Regions from separate parts of the Homo sapiens genome. Here all the other regions are linked to region 3. Evidence: promoter capture Hi-C in 16 types of primary human blood cells and fetal thymus (Javierre and others, 2016). All regions are on one chromosome and are shown on one strand. Each heading gives the region's core, a stretch centred on a gene start or on the middle of the fragment in contact. The rest is flanking DNA. Distances are from core to core; before and after follow the strand shown. Region 1 has its middle 25 kb from the start of PTPN1. Region 2 has its middle 47 kb from the start of PTPN1. Region 3 holds the start of SNAI1 (snail family transcriptional repressor 1).

What was found. Contacts are between HindIII fragments. The CHiCAGO score rates a contact against its expected background, and 5 or more counts as called.
Region 1: a fragment that was not itself captured here is called in contact with the fragment with the promoter of SNAI1 in region 3 in 1 of 17 cell types (monocytes); the score reaches 6.1 in monocytes.
Region 2: a fragment that was not itself captured here is called in contact with the fragment with the promoter of SNAI1 in region 3 in 3 of 17 cell types (activated CD4 T cells, naive CD8 T cells and endothelial precursors); the score reaches 6.6 in activated CD4 T cells.

The regions. Positions count from the first base shown.
Region 1 is chr20:50,483,611-50,487,200 of GRCh38, reverse strand. No RefSeq gene overlaps it. Among named protein-coding and RNA genes, the nearest start is that of PTPN1, 25 kb to the left of the region's middle. RefSeq lists enhancers at 3,220-3,329, 3,370-3,419. The HindIII fragment of the contact is 2,638 bases long and covers 431-3,068 here.
Region 2 is chr20:50,461,458-50,465,263 of GRCh38, reverse strand. No RefSeq gene overlaps it. Among named protein-coding and RNA genes, the nearest start is that of PTPN1, 47 kb to the left of the region's middle. The HindIII fragment of the contact is 1,375 bases long and covers 1,186-2,560 here.
Region 3 is chr20:49,980,866-49,984,525 of GRCh38, reverse strand. SNAI1 (snail family transcriptional repressor 1) reads right to left here and starts at 1,546. Exons shown (of 3, transcript NM_005985.4): 1 at 1,385-1,546; 2 at 175-702. The coding sequence starts at 1,466. RefSeq lists a silencer at 1,532-2,051 and an enhancer at 2,204-3,141. The HindIII fragment of the contact is 8,892 bases long and covers 1-3,660 here.

The DNA of each region.
Region 1 (3,590 bases), core at 500-2,999, 500 kb before region 3:
CAAAGTGCTGAGATTACAGGCCTGAGTCACCACACGCGGACTATTTTCTTTTTCTTTTTAGATTTTAAAATTTATTTTCTTTTTCTTCTTACCTTTCTTAATTTTTTCCTTGAACCAGAACCCAGCTTGATTTCCCCCCAAATGTGCAACTGATAGACCTACTGTAGAGTCTTCATTATAATAACTTTTTACTTTCAAAAAATAAAGGCATTATTTACCTGCAGTAAAATCTATCCTATCTAGTATACAGTTCTGTGATTTTTTTTCTTTTTTCTTTTTTTTTGAGACAGGGTCTCGCTTTGTTGCCCAGGCTGGAGTGCAGTGGTGCAGTCTTGGTTCACTGCAGCCTCAACCACCTAGGCTCAAGCGATCCTCCCACCTCAGCGTCCCAAGTAACTGGGACTGCACTACAGGCAGGCGCCACCAAGCTTAACTAATTTTTTCTATTTTTTGTAGAGATGGGGCCTCATTATGTTGCCTAGGCTGGTCTCGGCTCAAGCGATTTGCCCAGTTCAGCCTCCCAAAGTGCTGGGATTACAGGTATAAGCCACCGCACCTGGCTGACTGGGTTCTGTATTTTTTGACAAATGCACAGTCATCTAACCACCACCACAGTCAAGGTTTAGAACCATTCTATTAATTGTCTTCCCAATTTCCTGGGGACCCTTTGTAGTCTACCCTTGTGCCCACTCCCAGCCTTTGGCAACCACTTAACTGTTTTCTGTTCCTATAGTTGTCCCTTTTTCAAAAGACTATATAAATGGAATCATATAACATGTACCCTCTGAGTCTGGCTTCTATAATTCAGCATGATGCTTTGGAGGTTCATCTACATCATCGTGTGTATTAAGAGTTCTCACCTGGGCGCGATGGCTCATGCCTCTCATCCCCACACTTTGGAGGCCAAGGCAGGTGGATCACCCGAGGTCAGGAGCTCAAAACCACCCTGGTCAACATGGTGAAACCCTGTCTCTACTAAAAATAGAAAAATTAGCTGGGCGTGGTGGCGGGCACCTGTAATCCCAGCTATTCGGGAGGCTGAGGCAGGAGAATTGCTTGCAAACGGGAGGTGGAGGTTGCAGTGAGCCAAGATCATGCTGCTGCACTCCAGCCTGGGTGATAAGAACGAAACTCCATCTCAAAAAAAAAAAGAGTTCTCATCTTGTTACTCGTGAGTAGTATTCCATTGTACAGATGTACTGCCGTTTGTTCAATCTTTCCTCAGTAGAGGGGCATTTAGATGGTTTCCCATATTTTGGCCTTTATGAATAAAGCCACTATAAACGTTCTTGTACAGGTTTTTGTGTTTTTATTAAATAAACAGTTTTTATTTCATTTGGGTATATTTCTAAAAGTGGGATTTTTACTTTATTTATTTATTTATTTATTTATTTATTTTTATAGAAACGGGGTCTTACTGTGTTGACCAGGCTGGTCTCAAACTCCTGACCTCAAGCAATCCTCCCATCTTGGCCTCCCAAAGTGCTGGGATTATAGGCATAAGCCACTATGCCTGGCCAGGATTGGTGAGTTGTATGATAACCGTAGGTTTAACTTTACAAACAAACAAACAAACCTGCCAAACTGTTTCCAAAGAAGCTGTACTGTAGGAGGCTGAGGCACGAGAATCCCTTGTACCCAGGAGGTGGAGGTTCCAGTGAGCCGAGATTGTGTCACTGCACCTCAACCTGGGCAACAGAGCAAGACTCTGTCTCAAAAAAAGAAAGAAAGAAAGAAAGAAAGAAAGAAAGAAAGAAAGAAAGAAAGAAAGAGAGAGAGAAAGAAAGAAAGAGGAAAGGAAGGAAGGAAGGAAGGAAGGAAAGAAAGAAAGAAAGAAAAAAAAAAACAACCAAAGAAGCTCTACCGTTGTGCATTTCCACCAGTGTATGGGAGTTCCAGTTGCTCTGCATCTTAGTCAGCACTTGATGTTGTCTGTTGTCATTTAGTTTATTTTTATTATTTTAACCATGCTGAAATGAATTTTAAAAGTAAAAGTGGCTGGGCATGGTGGCTCACGCCTGTAATCCCAGCACTTTGGGAGGCCGAGGTGGGCAGATCACCTGAGGTCAGGAGTTTGAAACTAGCCTGGCCAACATGGAGAAACCCCCGTCTCTACTAAAAATACAAAATTAGCCAGGCATGGTGGCACATCCCTACTCGGGAGGCTGAGGCAGGAGAATTGCTTGAACCTGGGAGGCGGAGGTTGCAGTGAGCTGAGATTGCACAATTGCACTCTAGCCTGGGCAACAAGACTGAAACTGTGTCAAAAAAAAAAAAAAAAAAAAGGAAAAGTGACCATGGATAAAGGCTAAAATTTATAACTCAGACTCTAAGGCCCTGTGTGAACTGAGCCCTGCCCATTTCACCAGGCCACTCTCTGTTCTCCAGTATCCTTTCAGGTCTGGCTACAGGGCCTTTGCACATGCTGTCTACTCTACTTAGGATGCCATTCCTGCTTTCTGCCTGGCTAATGCCTATTGTCACATGGATCTCGTCCTAAAGGCACTTCCTTGTGGGTATGCCTAGATTCTGTTTCCTTGTTACATGTTTTCGTATCTGCCTTTCTTATTTACCACAGTGGTTCTCAACTGGGAGTGATTTTGCCCCCCAGGGGCCATTTGACAATGTCTGGAAACATTTTTGGTTGTCAAAACCAGGGTAAGAATGCTACTGGCATCTAGTGGGTAGAGGCCAGAGACGCTGCTAAATATCCTACAATGCCCAGAACAGCCTACAGGAATGATCCAGTCAAAATTTCACTAATGCGGAGGTTGAGAAACCTGTATCACAACGTAATCAACTAATTGCTTTTTATGGCTGCCTTCCTGTTCCCATCTCACTCCCCCACTTCCCCATCTAGGCTTCCCTTACCCCCTCCTCGCCATGTGTATTTAGCTGTTTAATGCCTCCTTTTCCTGCTAGAGTATAAAGCCTAAGGGGCAAGGATTGTGTCTGTCTTGTTTTCTATATATTGCGTATCATAGGTGCTTAATAAATGTGTCAAATGAATAAAAGAGCAAATGAAAACTATCTTTCATAAAGCACATCTTTAAGGACACCAGAAAGCTTTCCTCTTGACTTCTGTCTTGGTAACTCTAAATATTATTTGGAAAAAAAATAAACAAGGTGGTGGGGAGGAGGGAGAGGGAGAGAAAAGCAGAGAAGAGGAGGACAAGGAGAAAAGGAAGAGGGAGATAGAGAACACTGTCTTTGTAGACTCAATCTGAGCTGGAATTCCAGCACTTAACTGTCACATAGTCAAGAGCAAGTCACTTTCCCTCTCTGAGCTCGTTTTTCTCAACTGTACAATGGGAATCAGAAAACGAAAGTAACTGTGCTAATGGCTGGCAACTACCCTGCACTTTATAAATGTTAGTTTTGTTCCTTTCTTCCTTTCCCCTCCTTCTCCTAAGTTTCCTGGCCAGCATCAGTGCTCACTCATCCTCCTCAGCCCACTCAAGAGAGCTGCCTGAAGCTAGATGGACAGTTCTATAAATGCTGGTGACGTATACCCAACCTCCGGCACCCGCATCTCTCTGCCCAGAGCCTGTGTGCTTCATGTGCGCATGGCAGGTCACATGTGTGGGAAG
Region 2 (3,806 bases), core at 624-3,123, 480 kb before region 3:
CACAGCAGAGATAAACCACATGACAAAGCCGCTTCTCGAAAGCTTAGCTCACACTCTGTTGCCCAAAGGAAGTCACACAGCCAAGCCTGACTTCAGCCGGGAGGGTCACCAGGGAATTGCCAATGGGATAAATACTTTGACAATAATACAATCTACCACATCTACTGTAAAGGGAAAACCAGCACCACTTGCTCTCAATAGAAGGTGACCACAAAAAGTAAATATTATGAAAACATGTAACTTTATTAAATTCTAGCCAAATAATTTTGCCTTCTGAAGGCACTAAGTCTGAGGCCCACTCTCAAACAGAAAGTTCGGAAGGGAGGCAGGTAAGTGTTAGAAAGGCGTTAATGTCATGTTCCTATCAAACTGAGACTGCCGCCTAGATGCCATCAGAATGATTGACAGAGAATGAAATGTTATTTGATACTGGGGTGCTGTGCCCACCAAGATCTCCCCACGAATCCCACTGGTATTTGTTCTATACTTTGGAAGACCCAGCTTCAGAATCGCTCTAGGGGAGTAGAGAAGGAAACTCAGTGTCTGAGGGAGGGATGATAATGACAGCCACCTGTTAGGGGTGCCGCTATGTTGCACAGTTTCATGAATGGGGCCCCTGAAGTTGTGCAACATGGCGGTCCTGGAGAGAATCTCTGCGGGTTACCTCATTTAATTCCCACCTCCGCTCTGCCAGGTAGGCAGGATTACCTCCATTTCGCAGCTGAAAAAACTCAGATTCAGGGAAGTTCAGTGCCTGGCTCAGGACCGCAGCTGGAGGGGTCGGGGAGAGGCTCTAACCCTCCGGCTTGAAGGTGTAGTTTCAGACTTGGCCACTTGGTGTCACTCTCTCCAAACTGTCGGAAGAACCTCTGAGCTGGCCGGTTTGTGGGGGACTCCGGGCCCAGCTAGTTGCACACTGATCCCCAGTCCGGCAAAGCGGCCCCTCCTGTCCTCCCTCCGCCCTGTCACCCTTGCGGGGTGCAGAATTTCTGCCTGTTCCCTGTTTGAACTGGGTCTCTGAGTACGCCTGAGCCAAGTACTTCACAGGCATGATCTCACTCGAGCCTGCCAGCAGCAATGTGGTCTCAGACTACAGATGAGGAAACTGAGGCCAACGGCGTAGGAGCAACTTGCCCAGCTAGTAAGTGGCAGTCAGAGTTTGAACTCAGGTCTGAGTTAGAAGCTTGGCGTTTTGATGCCCAGAAAGTGCATGGTAGGACAGTTGTATTAATTCTCGATTTTTCATAGAATATATTTCCAACCCACTCCTCAGTCTCTGTAATGTCCTTGGCAATGAAAATAATCTGCCTGTTTAGAGAAGTGTATGTGTTTTTGGTCTTTTCTTTTTTTCATGTAGAAGTTAGTTTTCCCCTGACTACCAAGAGAACACTGAGGTGTTTACTTACTTAATTTTTAAAAAAATTATCTGAATATACCTTGATAATTATTTATTTTATTTTATTTTATTTTATTTTAAGACGGAGTCTCGCTCTGTTGCCCAGGCTGGAGTGCAGTGGTGTGATCTGGGCTCACTGTAACCTCTGCCTCCCAGGTTCAAGTGATTCTCCTGCCTCAGCCTTCTGAGTAGCTGGGACTACAGGTGAGCACCACCACACCCAGCTAATTTTTTTTTTTTTTTGTATTTTTAGTAAAGACGCGGTTTCACTATGTTGCCCAGGCTGGTCTCAAACTCCTGGGCTCAAATGATCCTCCTGCCTCGGCCTCCTAGAGTGCTAGGATTTACAGGCATGGGCCACCACACCCGGCTGGTAATTATTTTTTTAAATTAGAAAATCTAAGTAAAAAGAACAAAATATAGCCAGAAGTGGTGGTGCATGCCTGTGGTCCCAGCTACTTGGGAGGCTGAAGCTGGAGGATCACTTGAGCCTAGAAGATCAAGGCTGCAGGGTGCTATGATTATGCCACTGTACTCTAGCCTAGGTGACAAAGTGAGACCCTGTCTCTGTATTTTTTAAAAAGAACAGACCGGGCACAGTGGCTCACACCTGTAATCCTAGCACTTTGGGAAGCTGAAACAGAGGGATCGTTTGAGCCCAGGAGTTCAAAACCAGCTTGGGCAACTTAGTGAGACTTCGTCTTTACAAAAAAAAATTTAATTAAAAATAAAAAATCAGCCAGGCATGGTGGCAAGTGCCTATAGTCCCAGCCACTCAGGAGGCTAAGCTGGGAGGATCACTTAAGCCCAGGAGGCAGAGGTTTCAATGAGTGGTGATCGCATCACTGCACTCCAGCCTGGGTGATAGAGCAAGATCTTGTCTCAAAATAAATAATTGATTAGAGAAATAATAAAAAAAGAACAAAATAAAAGTCGCTTCTAATTCACATCAGCCACCCAGAGATAAGTGCTATTGACACGTTGGAGCATATCCTTCAAGGCATTTTTCTCTCTGTCATCTATCAATGCATTAAAAAGTTCCATTTTTAAAAACTAACAAGGGATTGTATTCATATGCAAAAATTCAAAAGATACCAAAAGATTTACAGTGGGTCTTCTCCCTCTAATCCTTAACCCCCATCCCCAGCTTTAAAACTCCAAGCTTCCCTCCCCAGAATCCATTCTGGTTATCATTTCTTGGGGATCATTACAGAGACATCCAGAACACAGATAAGCAAATATGTGCGTGGATTCCTGTACTCATTTCTCTAAATAGAAGCACACCACACACCCTGTTCTGCACTGGGATTTTGTTTTTTTCAACTTAGCAATGTACCTTGGCAGATCTTTCCAGATCAGCACTAGGAGAGCATTCTTTGCACATTCCATTGTCTGAATATAATAATTTATCTAACAAGTTTTCTGGTGATAGTCACGGAGGTATTTCCAGGGTTTTTCTGCAACAAACAATGCTGCAATTAGTATCCCTTTCACAGAAGTCTTTCCATGTATTCAGAGCTATTTCTGATGGATACATTCTTAGCAACTGAATCGCCCAGTCATAGGGCAGGTGCGTTTAAACATTTTGACGCTGGTTGTCTAAATGCTCTCTAAGGTTGTACCTACCAATCGTCATTTGCACCGGCAACCTCCGTGAGCTCTGGTTTCCCCACGTCCTAGCCAAGGCCAAGTATGATTGGACTTCTTGATCTTGGCCTTGCCGATAGGGGAAAAAGGTGTTCACCATAGTTCTAATCTACATATTCATTGTTTATATGTTAGATTGGACATTTAAAAAATACGTTCAAAGACTGTTTATATTTCTTTTCTGGTGGCAAAGCATTCAAATTGTTAGTCTATTTTTCTCTTGGATAATTGTCTTTTTGTTGATCTGCTAGGGATTTTTATATACTAAGAAAATGAGGTATTTGTTTCTCATACATGTTATGAAAGTACATATTTTTAAAATATAGATATATCAGGCCGGGTGCAGTGGCTCACACCTGTAATCCAAGTACTTTAGGAGGCCAAGGTTGGAGGATCACTTGAGTCCAGGAGTTTGAAACCAGTCTGGGCAACATGGTAAAACCCTGTCTCTACTAAATATGATGGCAGGTGCCTGTAGTCCCAACTACTTGGAAGGTTGAGGTGGGAGGATTGCTTGAGCTTAGGAGGTGGAGGCTGCAGTGAGTCGTGTTCACTCCAGGCTGGTTAACAACCAAGATTCTCTCTCTCTCTCTGCGCGCGCGCGCGCACACACACACACACACACACACACACACACACACACACACACACACAGATAGAGTGTTTGTATACAATGTTTCTGAGGCCTGTGGTCATTTGATAATATATTGTGCATCCTTTCCCATATCTGTATTTCTTTGCAGCAAAATTATTTGTTGATAGT
Region 3 (3,660 bases), core at 297-2,796:
TGATGAAGAAAGTTTCTGCCAAACGTTTCCAGAGAGCCAGGCCCTGGAACTTGAGCTAGAAGTTAGAAGACTCGGGGCCTCAGTGTCCACAGCTTTGGGAATGAGAACAGCAAGCCCAGATTCACAAAAGCTGCCAGAGAGAGCAACGGTGGGGGCGCCTGGAGGGGCACGTACCAGTGTGGGTCCGGACATGGCCTTGTAGCAGCCAGGGCCTAGAGAAGGCCTTCCCGCAGGTTCCGCAGACGCAGGGCAGCGTGTGGCTTCGGATGTGCATCTTGAGGGCACCCAGGCTGAGGTATTCCTTGTTGCAGTATTTGCAGTTGAAGGCCTTTCGAGCCTGGAGATCCTTGGCCTCAGAGAGCTGGGCCAGCTGCTTGGGCACTTGGCCCAAGCCTGGGAAGGCAGCATAGGCCTCGGCCTCCAAGGAAGAGACTGAAGTAGAGGAGAAGGACGAAGGAGCCGGTGAGGGTGGGCTGGGGGGCTGGGAGCCTTTCCCACTGTCCTCATCTGACAGGGAGGTCAGCTCTGCCACCCTGGGACTCTCCTGGAGCCGAAGGGAGGCCCAGGCAATTGGCTGGGCTTGGGGCGCCAGGACAGAGTCCCAGATGAGCATTGGCAGCGAGGCGGTGGGGTTGAGGATCTCCGGAGGTGGGATGGCTGCCAGCAGGTGGGCCTGGTCGTAGGGCTGCTGGAAGGTAAACTCTGAGGGAGAAAAAGCAGAGTCAGGCGTTAATTAAATCATTCACTCAATCAACAAACATGAGCCCACCGCTGGCCAGGGGCTGGGTGGGGCCGATTCTCAATACATAATTAGATCAAAAAAATTATCCACAGGACAGACCAGGTTCCTGCCCTCCTCGCCCAGGTCACCCAATCTGAGTCTCTCACACGTAGGACCCCCAGTTGAAGGAGGTCATTTCCTGATCTCCCTCTCCTAAGTCCCCAGTCTCCAGCCTGAGGCCAGAACCCCATCATCCCAGCCCCGGAGCCACCACCCTGCCCCAATCCCCCTCCTCACACACATCTCGTCTCCCCACCCCTCCCCTCAACCCTCTGGACTCCGGACTCTCCCCAGCAGCGTCCAGAGGGCCCTCCTGACACAGGCCTCCTCTCCTTCCCCTCTTGCGGAGCTCCTCCGCCTCTCGCCGGCTACAAAGGCCCCCCAAGCTGAAGACCCCTGCCCTCTACACGGCACTCCCCCAACCACCCAGACAGATCCCCGGAACTGGGGACCCACTTGCCCGGTCTCCCGAGCCCGCAATGGTCCACAAAACATCCTGTGACTCGATCCTGGCTCAGGCAGGCCGCCTCCCTCAGGTGCCCCCCACGCAGCCTTCGCCTGTCTCCCCCAAACCTCCTGGAGCCCAGAACCCCTCCAACGCACCTGGATTAGAGTCCTGCAGCTCGCTGTAGTTAGGCTTCCGATTGGGGTCGGAGGGCTTCCTGACGAGGAAAGAGCGCGGCATAGTGGTCGAGGCACTGGGGTCGCCGATTCGCGCAGCAGTAGCGCAGAAGAACCACTCGCTAGGCCGTGCCGCGGCGCAATGAATGCAGCAGCGCCGCCAACTCCCTTAAGTACTCCGGGGGGGTGGTGGGGGGTGGGAGGGGCGGGGCCTTATCTGCCACGCCCCTTTGTCACCTCCGCGCCAATCGGAGGCTCGTCTCCGCCGAAGGCCACTCCCCGAGCAGGTGCGCCGGCTGCTGGCCGGGCTCGCGCCGCGTGGCGGTGAGAGCCCGGGCGGGGACTCCTCCGAGGCGGGGTTCGCTGGCGCAGCGCGGGTCGTCCCCGGTGCTGGGGCTGTCCGGGGCGGGACGTCGAGCGAAGCGAGGCCTCTGCGAGGTGGGACCCCGGCAGGACGCCGCGCGCCCACCGGCTCAGCGCCCGGTGGTCTGAGCGCTTCTGACGCCCCCTGGCGCTGCGCGCCGGCCGGGACACCTGACCTTCCGACGCCCGCCCCCGCCTCGGGCTTGGGAGGGGGCGGAAATTTCCTCCGCCCGGCTGGCGCCTGGAGAGCGTGGCATTGACGAGGGAAACGCACATCACTGGGGAGGAAGCGAGGAAAGGGACACCGCACGTGGCTCTCGGCGGCTTGAAATGCCACGGCCTTTTTGCAAAGCAGCCTGGCCCAGCTAGCCAAGAGCACCCGTTCCTTCCCTTATCCAGTGTTTACGGAGCGCCCAGCACGTGTGGGGCACTGTACCTGGGGCCAGGGCACAGCCCCGGACAGAACACTCAGAGCCTCTCCCGAAGGGTAGCTTCTGGTCCAGTGAGGGAGACAGACGAAGTAAACAGATAATTACAATGCAAAGGGAAGTGTGCTTTGGTGGGGGAGAGACGGGACGCGGCGACCGTTAAGAGGCGGGTCACCTGACAGGGGGTCGGGGTGACTTCCCAGAGGAAGTGAAGAATTATCAAGGGAAAAGGCCCGAGGGAAGAAGTGGCAACTGCTTCAGAGTAACTCCTAGAGAGCAGCTTCCAGGGATGGGGTGGGATGGGCATGCCCGGAGGGGTCAGATGTGCTGGGCCCCAGGGCCTCGTAGGAGTTTGGACTTTGCCTCAAGGGCACTGGGGAGCCACCGAAGGATTTTCAGCTGAGGAGGGACCTGGTTAGAGTTTCGTTGAAAAAGATCCCTGTAGGCTGGCGGGAGAAAGAAGGCATGGGCCGGGCGTGTCTCCTCACCCCGTGAAGATCCTCGATCCTGTGTCTAAAGGCTGTAACACGGCTCCATAGGGGCCCTGACTGAATGCATGTGGGGTGGGCCCAAGTGAGGGGCAGCTGCACCCCCACCCCAGCTTCCCTGGGAGGCGTACCAGGCCCGGGGGTGGCTCTGAAATAAACCTCACAGGTCTCACCGTTCTTGTTTCCACCTGTGAAGGAAGACTATAAAAACCTATAAGCACCCCACACCACCACCACCACCAACCTGAAGGGCAGAACTACTGTCTGTTTAGTCACTTGGTGCCGGGTGTGACAGCCGTGAACAAAATCGTCCTCCCCTGGTTCTAGCTGGAGAGCGGGCAGTAGGGTGGGGGACAGAGGCAGTAAGCAGTCATTAAGCGGAATACTCCCCGTCCCGTGTCAATTTAGCTCCAATCAGGATCCTTTGCTTGAAGCCAAAGTGAGGCCAGATCACCCCCTCCTCTGCTCAAACCCTCCCATGCGCCTGTCTCAGAGTAAAAGCCAAAGTCCTCTCCTCAGCCAACTCGGCCCCGCTGCTCTGACCCCAGCTGACATTGGCTTGAGCCTCTCTCCCTCCCCCATGCACAAGGATCCCACCCCCAGCCTTCCTTCTGTTCCTCCAACATCCCAGACCTTTCCCACCTTGGCACCTGCTGCTCTTCCTCCTCTCCCCTACGTCTCTTGCTCCTAGATCTTCACGCTGGCTTCCTTTCATTCTTTGTTTCAGCAGCAACTTCACTAACTGCTCAGCCTCGTTTAGTGAAGAGAGAAATGGCAAATTCAAGCCACAGTGAGCTGCCATTTCACGCCCATCAGAAGGACAACAAGGAAAAATTTGGTCACTATCAAGAGTTGATGAGGAGGTGAGAGCTGGCGAGAGGGTCGGTGGGCATAGTCACTTTGGAAAAGTTTGGCATCAGCTAGCAACAGGTGACTCCTCTCCCTGTCTGTCCTCAAGCCAACTGCATCCCAGGGGCTG